Regions from separate parts of the Homo sapiens genome. Here region 1 is linked to region 2. Evidence: promoter capture Hi-C in human tissues and cell types (Jung and others, 2019). All regions are on one chromosome and are shown on one strand. The core of a region is centred on a gene start or on the middle of the fragment in contact, and the rest is flanking DNA. Distances in the headings are between cores, read along the strand shown.

Region 1 (5,664 bases), core at 2,897-5,396, 270 kb after region 2:
TAGGAAGTGAGGTAGGAGAATCACTTGAGCATGGGAGGTTGAGGCTGCAGTGAGCCTTGATTGTGCCACTGTATTCCAGCCTGGGCAACAAAGTGAGACCCTGTCTCAAAAAAAAAAAAAAAAAAAAAATTTTCTGGGTCTCAAGCCTAGAGTTTCTAACTTTAGGGACTGGGAGGAGGTCTGAGATCCAAATTTTTATCGAATTCTCATTTGCTGCTGATACAGGGCCCACTAATTTATATGAAGGGAAAAGAAAGTAGTCCCCTCTCACCTTAGCTATCACCTTATGTGAAGACACTTCTCTACAGAGTACTTTCAACAAGACAGACACTTAGGGTTTAAAACACCTCCAGGGTCTGACAGCTTAAAGATTTATTTTTTTTCTCCCCACTTCACAAAGGCTTCAATGGCACCACTAACATGAAGGCACATGAAATCCAGAAAAAGGAAAATTAAGGACAGAATATTTATAAACTTTGCTAAGAACTTCTTACTGCTCACATTTTACTTCAGCCTGAAGTCCTTCCTTTGGGCCTCCTTGAGCAACAGATGCCAAAAGAAAAGTAGATTGCTTTGTAATACCAACCCCCAAAACAAGGATGGGCTCTTAAAATATAATAGAACTTTGCCCTGTGAACAGAAAATCTCAAAATGCTCCAAATTCCTCCTTAGTTCACCTTAGCTATCACAAAGGTCTCTCTTTTATCACACTATCCTTCATCTCAAAAGAGCTATTGCTCTTACCCAGGACTGACCCAAAGTCTACACTTTCTTAGGCAGCTTAAATATTGACTATGTCAATGTCATCTAGGATGAATGACTTTAGGGAATAGGATTTGTTAAAAATGTCTCCTCGGTCAGCCAGGAAAGGTTCTTCTGTGGGTGCTCTGAACCATGACTAAACTGTACCGAGAGAAATATATTTTAAAATATTAATATGGTCTGGCACCTTCCTGATGCTAATGGTTCCAGGCCCACCCCAATGGCACAACTGGGAAATTAAGTGAAGAGAAAAGCCATCTTCCCTCTGCTCTCTATTTCAAATGGTCCTCCTCCACAGCTTTGCCACGCACAGACTCATTCTATACATATACACAGAGATACAACATGCTCATACACACAAATAACTCTCCACAGGAACTGAAAATCAAAGCCTAACCCCATGGTTTTTAAGTGAGCAAGTCCAATTTCCTTCTTTGTAGCTCTTGACACATGCTGGCTGGGAGCCGTCTGGATTTTTTCTGCCTTGTTCCTGCACCAGAAGGCTCTGCACTGCAGGTCAGGGGATGATAAGGAAATGAACAGTGTAATTTCCAAGGCCTCTGAACACAGCCCTGTCAGCAGCTCTGGAGGCGGGTTACTCAAGCATGGCTTGAAGAGTGAAAACCACAGAGAGAGGGCTCAGACAGCCAGCAGTGGCAGGATCTCAGCTGTGTATGTTACTGCCACATCCCAAGCCCTGCTGCCTCCCTGGATGAGCTCTGCTGGTAAAAGCTCTTATACCCAAATGGCAAAAATACAAGTTCACACTGGGGGAGGAAGATTAAGGGCTAAGACTTAGATTTTTTCCATGCAGTCTTGTGTAGAAACAAAAACACTTAGCACTACTCCAGTGTCCGTGAGATTGCATATTCCGGCAAAACCACAGTAACATCTATCCAACATACCCAACCCCATGCCAGGGATATGGCCAGAAAAGAAGCTCGATTCATATGAAGTCTGAAATTCAACAGGCCACTTCAATATGCCCTAAGCTAATTTTTGGTCTTCCCCCCACCTCCAACTATAATTATCAGGGGCTTTAGAACACATCACCACCATGAAAATTTCCCAGCCTAGATTTGGAACTTCTTCAGACCATAGTGCTAAAAAGTCTTAGCTAACATGTATATCTATTCATACTGGGATTCCTGTAAAGTGGAATGTTGTTGTATTTCAGTACATTATTGCCTAGGAGAGACTAAGACCAATTTCCACTCAAACTGTATTTTTCTTTTTTCTAATATTTATTGAATGCTTCCTACGTGCCAGGCACTAAGTGTTTTATATGAATTAGCTAACTTAATCTAAAGACAAACTTTTTTTTTTTTCTTGAGACAGAGTTTTGCTCTTGTTGCCCAGGCTGGAGTGCAACAGCACAATCTCAGCTCACTGCAACCTCTGCCTCCCGGGTTCAAGTGATTCTCCTGCCTCAGCATCCTGAGTAGCTGGGACTACAGGCATGCACCACCACGCCCGACTAATTTTGTATTTTTAGTAGAGACAGGGTTTCTCCATGTTGGTCAGGCTGGTCTCGAACTCCCGACCTCAGGTGATCCACCCGCCTTGGCCTCCCAAAGTGCTGGGATTATAGGCGTGAGCCACCGCGCCCGGCCTAAAGACAAACTTAAAGGCTGGGTGTGACGGCTCATGCCTGTAATCCCAGCACTTTGGGAGGCCAAGGCGGGTGGATCACTTGAGCCCAGGAGCTCGACACCAGCCTGGCCAACACAACGAAACCCTGTCTCTACTAAAAATACAAAAATTAGCCAGGCATGGTGGTGCATGCCTGTAATCCCAGCTACTCTGGAGGTTAAGGCAGAGGTTGCAATGAGCAGAGACTGCACCACTGCACTCCAGCCTGGGCGGCAGAGTGAGACTCCCTCTCATAAATAAATAAATAAATACAAACTTATGTAGGTGCTATTTCTCTCATTTTGCAGATAAGAAAACTGAGGAAGAACAATTAAGAAACTTGGTCAAGATCACTCAGTAAATAAGTGCAAAGGTAGGAAACAAAGCCAGGTAGTCTGGCTCCAGAGTTCACACTTTTTAAAAAATTTATTATTATTATTTTTTTGAGACGGAGTCTCACTCTGTTGCCCAGGCTGGAGTGCACTAGTGCGATCACAGCTCACTACTGCAGCCTCAACCTCCCAGGCTCAAGCCAGGAGGCCTGGCTAGAGTTTACGCTTTTAGCCACTAAATTATACATAAGAGTTGATGTGAAATTCAAGTTTAGAAGGCTGGTGTTTTAAATGAGAAGTGGCCCCGAATACTTACCTTGAAAGGAAAATTCTCAAACTTTGATGTATATAGCAATTATCTGGAGAGACTTCTGGAAGTACAGATTTCTGGGCCCTTACCCCAAAAACTTATTCGGCATATCTAGGGTAGGGTCCAAGAATGTGCATTTTTGATACTCTGGTGATGTACATGGTTTTATGGGACACACTTTTAGGAACTCTGCTGTAGACGGTAAACTGTAAGCTCCTCAAAAAGCAGAGACCATCTCTGTTTTATTTACCAGTGTATACCCAATACCAAGTAGAAAACCTAGTATCTAAAATGCATTCAATTAATGTACTGACTGAATGAAAAGTGATAACAATTAGCCAACAGTATATCTTCTCTACAAAATACTTAGTAATATCCACAATACATTTGAAGGTCTGCCTATTAGTGATGTGTCCAAGGAAGAAGCACTAGAACAGGGTTTTTTTTCTTACCTGCAATTGCCAAGTAAAGAAAGAACTATTCCTCAATTATTATAATGAAAATTTGGCTGGATGAAATATTCCAGAACACACACACATATATCATAAGTAGTCAAGCTCAAAGTAGCAGTTTTAAAGTAACTTTCCTTCTTTATAAATAACAGGATAGGTTCAGTGCCAGCTGTAATGGTTATTCTTTGCAAACATCATTCATTACCTTACCTAAAATCCTAAACTCAAAGATCCTTTGTTTATTGAGTGTCTACAATGTTAAAGTCACTGTGAAAAACAAGTGAAAGCAGTTTTGGGGTAAAAGCAATTTTGGAGTATGTAAGCATTTTCATCTAATGTTTCAAGGTAGTCTTTACATTGAAAAAATGGCTGGGTGTGGTGGCACACACTTGTAGTCCCAGCTACTTGCGAGGCCAAGGCAGAAGTGCATAAGTGAGACCAAGGCAGAAGTGCATAAGTGAGGCCAAGGCAGAAGTGCATAAGCCCAGGAGTTCAAGATCAGCATTGGCAACATAGCGAGACCCTGCCTTAAAAATAAGCAAATAGGCTGGGTGTGGTGGCTCATGCCTGTAATCTCAGCACTCTGGGAGGCCGAAGCAGGTGGATCACTTGAAGTCAGGAATTTGAGACCAGCCTGGCCAACATGGTGAACCCCTATCCCTACTAAAATTAAAAAAAAAAAAAAAAAACTAGCCAGGCATGGTGGTATGCACTTGTAATCCCAGCTACTCGGGGAGCTAAGGCAGGAGAATCGCTTGAATCAGAGGCAGAGGCTGCAATGAGCCGAGATCGTGCCACTGCACTCCAGCCTGGGTGACAGAGTGAGTCTCCATCTCGAAAATAATAATACTAAGAAAATAACAAATAAAGTGGGAAAATTGAGAATCCTTCCTGACAGTTAAAGATTTGTTAAGAATCCCAGAGTAACAACATGCCATAAGAATTTGGTGTCTACAAATCTGGCTTTGCCAGTGACTACCTGTGAGATGCTGGGCAAGTCACAGGACTTCACTGGTCTTAGTTTCTTCTATAAAATGAGGAAATTGGACAAGATAATCTTTCTCTGGAACTGCCTTGAATTACAACACCTAGAAGGAAAACAGAGTTTCTGAATGAAAAAATAAATTAAGCTTGTAGTTACAGAATGCAACTCTGTCCCACATAAATATCAACTTCTTTTTAATGTTTTCCATGAAGGAAAATCTTGAGGGCATTTGGTTTCAGGAAGCAAAGCTGACTGCTCTGCCATCAATAGCTGAGAAATAACAGCTAGTGGAAGAAGGCGTTAAGAAAGCCTTGGATCAGAAGGAATAAAAGAGACCTGACCTTGGTTAGGCAATGAGGGACTACAATACAAGAGAACTAAGCTAGAAGGCACAAATTAGGGCAGGAATACAAAACCAATGGCAAAGGAAGATGCTCTTAAGAACACAGGATATGATAGCATGCATGATCAGAAGTTGAAAGAGCAAAGAGCACACTTTATGGTTTTCTTTGTATCCTAAACTAATGGGGGAAGTGGTAAATATATGCAGCATTCTGAAAGCAGCAGAAGCTGACATTCAAACACGGGAAAAGCAAAGTGCAGTGTTCCTACCTTGCAAGATCAAAAGCAGCAGCTAAAGACATGTGAGGGGGAGCTTCTGGTTAGAAACTTCTAGATCCTTTCTTTAACTACTAGAGCCTACTTGGCTATTTTATATGATTTGGGGGAAAAGAAGGAGTCTCACCTTAAACTCCTGGTCGTAAGCCCTGACAAAGTCAGCACAGATAGATCGTTGCCATCTGTGGTTTGTAAATTCCTTTTTTCTTGCCTGTCAGAGTGGCGACATAAGCACTAAGCTCAGGACACTCAGACAGGCGCCTGCCCTCCTCCCTACCTCCCCTTCCATCCCTAACTTAACAATCCATCAATCAAACTAAAGGCAAGGGAACAGGCAAGAGCTGGAAGGCTCTGTCTTGTTTATTCCTCAACATTCCCTCCCCCATCTCTTCAGCTGGCAGGAAGTATGAGGCAGAAGTGTTCAATAACAATTCAGAGCAGCAGCAGTTGCTAAGAGCCATCTCTGGTCTCTCCTAGAACTCTGGGAAACAGCACAGAGCTCACTCTGTCAGAGGAAGGTATGGTCGAGCAAAAGTGGGATCCCATGAAGGGAAATCCACATCCTTGTCTGAC
Region 2 (5,762 bases), core at 2,401-4,900:
GAGGATGGGAGGATTCCAGACAAAAGGAATAGAAATTCGAGAAGCTCAGAGGTGATATGGAGCATGACAGTGGGGGAGGCCTGGGGCACTGAAGAGATTACTAGAGGCTACACTACTAGGTCATAGCTGGGGAGACAGAGATATAAGTTCCTACCCTTCAGATGTCTGAAAGAGTTGTACACCCCAAACTCCTCTCTCTAGCCTCTTTCACATCAGCTTCTGGTCAGCACCAATGGGTACGCCTGACTACTCATGAAGGTGCGGGCTGGGTGGGAGCTTTGTGTTTATATGATCTCCAAATCCATGTGAGATTGGAGATTCTGCCATTTCAGGGGCCATAGGGGTGCACAGAGAGGGAAAAGACAGTTGTTGCCTCCAAAGTGCTTAAGGGCTGGTCACACATACAGGAAACTTTCTGAGGCATTAAGAATGCTCATATAAGAGGGCGGGCTCATGCCTGTAATCTCAGCACTTTGAGAGGCCAAGGTGAGCAGATTACTTGAGGCCAGGAGTTCAAGACCAGCCTGGCCAACACGGTGAAACCTTGTCCCTACTAAAAATACAAAAATTAGCCAGGTGTGACAGCGAGTGTGGTGGCAGGCACCTGTAATCCCAGCTACTCAGGAGGCTGAGGCACGAGAACTGCTCGAACCTGGGAGATGGAGGATGCACTGCACTCAAGCCTGGTGACATAGTGAGACTCCGTCTCAAAGAAAAAGAAAAAAAAAAGAATCCTCATATAAAGTTTGCCTATGAAGGCAAAAGAGAAAATAAACTGGAAATAATACAAATATCTAACAAGAGACAGGTTAAATAAGTAATGGCAGTCTAATAAGGGGTAAGCATTTACTACAAATTATGAAGAACTTAAGAAGAAATACAGGCTGGGTGTGGTGGCTCACGCCTATAATACCAGCACTTTGGGAGGCCAAGGTGGGAGGATCACTTGAGCCCAGGAGTTCAACACCAGCTTGGGACAACATAATGAGAGGCCAGTCTCTTAAAAAAAAAAAAAAAAAATTAGCTGGGCGTGGTGTTGCACCTGTAATCACAGCTACCTGGGAGGCTGAGGTAGAAGGATCACTTGAGCCCAGGAGTTCAAGGCTGGAGTGAGCTGTGATTGTGCCACTGCACTCCAGCTTGGGTGACAGAGCAAGATCTTTTTTCTAAAAAAAGAAAAGAAGGCCGGGCGCGGTGGCTCACGCCTGTAATCTCAGCACTTTGGGAGGCTGATGGGGGCAGATTACAAGGTCAAGAGATCAAGATCATCCTCACCAACATGGGGAAACCGTCTCTACTAAAAATACAAAAGTTAGCTGGGCGTGGTTGTGCGTTCCTGTAGTCCCAGCTACTCAGGAGGCTGAGGCAGAATAGCTTGAAACTGGGAGGTGGAGGTTGCAGTGAGCCGAGATCGCATCACTGCACTCCAGTCTGGCAACAGAGCAAGACTGCATCTCAAAAAAGCCCCCAAAACAAAAAAAAAAAAAATGAAAAAAGAAAAGAAATGTAGTGATGGGGGTCAGTTGTGGCCCCTGTGTCATTTGTCACCTTTTTGGGCCTTAGCTCTCCCATCTATGGAGAAAACAGAGACCAGAATGGAGAAGAAGGGTGACCAGAATTACAAGATGAGAGGCTCTTCTTTGAAAAATTCAAATTAACCATATAATGGCTGAGTTCAGAAATCTGGCCAGGCTCCTTCTCCTGGAAAAAGCATGGGAAAGGCAGGATCTTGAGGGAAGGGAAGATTTTGGATTGATTAGGGGGAGCGGGGGAGGAAGAGGAAGAGGAAGAGTATTCCTGGGCCAAAGTTAGAGACAAACCTGATAGGAAGACCTATTCTAGGGGAGGGGATGGTGATCAAGCCCACAGCCAGATTGGACTGAGGCCTGTGGAGGATGGTAGGGGTATCTGAGGGTTCCCAAGGTTGGTTCTATCTGGAGATGCCTGAGGCTGGAGGCATCTTAAAAACTCTGGGTAAAGGTCTGGCTCCTACAGGCAGCAGCTCCCTCTTCATAGGGCCTGAGCCAAGTGTTGGCAACAGGGCTGATGGGAAACCAGGGTGCTCTTGGCCTTGCCACCAGCAGAAAATGGTCCCCAGCCCACAGTAGGTGCTCAATAATTATTTACTAAAGGAATGAGTATATCATTGGAAAGACATTGCCCATCTCTAGGCCTCAATTTATCTGTGAGATGGCAGGTCAGGATGGAGATTATAATTTACTGGGAAGACTAAGCCACAGCACAGTGATCCTGTGGTGCTAGTCCTACCTAATTCAGGAGGTCGACACACAGAGGTTCTGGGGGCTCAGGCACTTGTCCACGGTCTGGGATCCTAACCAGTCCGTGACTGCAAATCCAGCTTTTCTTTTTTCTTTTCTTTTTTTGAGACGGAGTTTCGCTCTTGTTGCCCTGGCTGGAGTGCAATGGCAAGATCTCGGGTCACCGCAACCTCCGCCCCGTCCAGGAGAAGGGGCACTGAGGAGGGACCCAGTTCTCCCGCGGCTCTGCCGGATTCAGGCTGCAGCGCTTCCAGCGCTCCCCGAGGTGGGTGCGGGTTTCTACTGTGGCAGCAGGGCGGGCCCCCATCGGCTGGGTTTTCAAATAGAAGAGAAAACCGACCCAGAGGCCGCGCCCTACTGACCTGCGCGGGGGTGCGGGGGGAGTCACGACGACCTCCCCCACCTCCCCCAGCCTCTAGGCTATTACATCCGTCCCCAGCCTTCGGGCTCAGAATAGGAGGCAGGGAAAGGTGTGAGGGGCACTGAGGTCGGGGGAGGAGCGAGAAGACCCGAAAGCCAGGCGTGTTGAGGGCAAGGTGGGCAACAGAACCTTCTTGGTCATTCGAGGCAGCCCTCGCTAATGACCATTGGGGTCCCAACACTCGAATCCCCACCTAAGTCCTATTCAGATAGTGACTGGGAGTGGGAAGGGAGTTTGAGATCCTAAGTCCCACCCTCTGGGCTGGGAGCCTGAGGCCAGAGAGGGGAAGTGATTTCCTCAAGGTCACTCAGCAAAACAGCGCCCAGCCCGGGCCAAAGCTCAGGTGTCTCCCAACCCCCTCCCCCCGGCCATCACCCCCAGAACTCGGTCCCCCGGAGCTGAGGTCTGCGCGACTGGATTTAGGGGCAGAATGAGTGCGTCGGGAACCCCAAAACCCTAGATCAAGATACAAGGGGAGTCGACGGCCCGGAAACCTCGCTGCGGGTGCCCTAAGCGCGAGGCCGCCCGGGCAGGGCCGCCCAGGGACCGGGGCGCTGGGTGCGGGGCACGGGGCTCCACCTCCCGCGGGCTGGGGCGCGCAGCGCGCGGCCCCTTTAAGAAAGTTCGCCGGGCGAGTTCATCAAAGTTTAAAAACTCGCCGTGGAGAAGGGCGCGGGGGAAGAGGAGAGAGGGAGAGCGCTGACCCAGGCGAGAGAGAGGGGAAAGGCCCGGCCGGAGGCCGGCGCCCCGCGGCCGGGGCCGGGGCGAGCCCACGGTGGGCGGTGGGGATTGGCTGCGCGTTCCCCCGGAGACCGCGCGGCGGGCGGGGGAGGGGGCTGGCCGGGCCCCAGCTGAGGCCGGTTCCGGCCCCGCCCCCCGCCGCCGGCGCCCGCCCCCTCCCCCGGCGCCCGCCCCCCGCCGCCGCTGCCGCCGCCGCCGCCGCCGCGGCGCACTCGCCGGTCGCAGTGAAAAGGCGGAGGCGGCGGCCCCTCCGGCTCCCACTGCCTCCCCCGCCGCACCCCCTCCCCACCTTCCGCACCCGCCAAACTTGATGTGACCCTGGCCCGACGCGGAGGCTGCCCCTCTCACTGCCCCGTGGGTCCCCCGCCACCCGCTCCGCACCCGCGAGCGCACCGCTCCCCGCGCCCCTTCCCACTTCCCGCGGGGCCGGCGCCGCGCTCGCCCTCGCGTTCCTTCCCGCCGCCCCCTCCCCCGCACCATGAGCAACCTGAAGCCGGACGGCGAGCACGGCGGCAGCACCGGCACCGGCTCCGGCGCGGGCTCCGGCGGCGCCCTGGAGGAGGAGGTGGGTCTGTGGCCCCGGGACTTGCCGGGTGAAGCGCACGCCAGGCGGGCGCGGGAGAGGGCGAGCGGGGCCTGCCGCGCCTCGCGGGGCCGGGGTGGCCATCGCTCCCGGCGCCTTCCCGCCGCTGCCCTCTCGCCCGGGTAGGAGCGGCCCGTGTCCGCGGGCGGGAGCGTGCGGCCTGGACTGCCCCGCCGGACAGGCATTGTCTCCCCGCCCTCTCGGGCTCGAGGCGGGCCGCGCGCGCCGGCCGCCGTCCGGGCGTCCCGCGGTGGGCGAGATGCGCCGCGTCCGTTCCATGCCTGCCGCCCGCGCGCCCCTTGCTCCCCACCCCGTAGCCGCTCGCCGCCCTCCTCCGAGGCGCACCTCCTGCGTGGCCAGGACCCCGCCTCGGCGGCACGGAGCGGAGCGGGATTAGCACGGCCCGAGGGCGGCACCCTCACTCCACTGCCTTTTCCGCCCTGACCCCCTCCCCGTGACCTTGGAGGCCTGGGCCGGCCGGCTCCTCGGTTCCTGCGAGCTGTTGTCATGGGGGTGGGCGGGCTTTCTTCACAGCCCCAGAACCTGGGCTTTGGCAGAGGTGAGCCCACAATTTAATTAGTTTGGAAGATGACTAAAGACACTCAGTTCGTCCTTCTCCTCTCTCTGGGTTTGTCCTGGCAACCAAGCCAGGACCCCAAAGCTGGCCTGGGTGGGATCCTGCCAGGAGGGGCGAAATCATCTCGTCCACCGGCCATGTGCGAAAGGGAGGGAGTGTAAGGCGGCTCCGTGGAACCACCAGCAGCTGGGTGGTTAATGGATGGTAGGGAGGATGTGTGTGCGGGGTGGGGTGCTGGATAAAAGCCTCAAAGATATCAGTGAATAGGGACGAGGAGCTAGGCTGGCGGAGACAAGAACTGGAGTAGAAGGGGACAGGCTTCGCAGGGCCTCTGGCCTCTGCTGCGTCATTCTAGGGGTGAGAGAGCCTTCCTGCCCCTGCCCTGGCATGTTCTCGCCCAGGAAACCAAGGGCTGGTTATCCACCTTGGGCGCCCTTCCCCTTGGCCTGGGGGAGAAACCGCAGAGCCCCTGGTGTGGACTGGTGTTGCCTCCTCCCCTTGTGCTGGGGGTTGGTGCAGAATGGCGCCGGTGGCCCTCGGCTGGGCTGGGCTCAGCGCCGCCAGCTCCCACTCGGCTATTCAGAGACCTTCAGCCAGCCCCAGTCGATGACAATCTAGGTTTGGATCTCCACTTTTTGGCGGAAGGGGAAGGGAAGAATATACAACTGTGACATCTGTCCACTAATGACTTAAGTGTGGTGGATTTGTTTGGGCTCCAGAGGCCTTGCCCTCCTTGTACCTTGATGCCAAAAGGCCCTTGGCTTTGGGGATCTTGCCCCCATCCTGACTCTACCTGGCTGTTAGAATCTCCCTTGACAGTTGGGGAGGGTGACAGGGTTGCTAGCGTACTTGGAGTCTCTGCTTGGCCCCCTGCTGTGGGCTGAAACTGGGGGAGAGCATGTCTCCTATAAAGCTGAATGGGGACCCAGAACCCCACTTCTGCTAAAGGGTCTACTTCAGTGGGGACTTCACACTGCCCAAGAGGCTGGTACTGGGCAAACCCTCAGACCCACTGCTGTTGGGTGAGAAGGGTGACCCATGTGGCCATTCTAAGTCTTGAAAAAAGCATTTGAGGTTTTAGCCACTCCTTTCTAAGTACCTTTTCTGGGAAAGAGGGCAGGATTCTCAAAAAGTGGAATCCCTACTATTCCTCCTTGGGAG

The links. The method cuts DNA at HindIII sites, captures the fragments that hold promoters and counts their contacts. A contact is called where the count stands out against the background at its distance.
Region 1: a contact is called between a fragment that was not itself captured here and the fragment with the promoter of RBPMS2 in region 2, in 2 of the 25 tissues and cell types used here (IMR-90 fibroblasts and spleen).

What each region holds. Positions count from the first base shown.
Region 1 is chr15:64,503,150-64,508,813 of GRCh38, reverse strand. The region is part of intron 2 of ZNF609 (zinc finger protein 609); the gene reads right to left. Among named protein-coding and RNA genes, the nearest start is that of ZNF609, 45 kb to the right of the region's middle. The HindIII fragment of the contact is 8,439 bases long and covers 1-5,664 here.
Region 2 is chr15:64,773,477-64,779,238 of GRCh38, reverse strand. RBPMS2 (RNA binding protein, mRNA processing factor 2) reads left to right here and starts at 3,650. Exons shown (of 8, transcript NM_194272.3): 1 at 3,650-4,006. The coding sequence starts at 3,920. RefSeq lists enhancers at 2,097-2,942, 2,943-3,789 and a silencer at 3,225-3,474. The HindIII fragment of the contact is 13,175 bases long and covers 1-5,762 here.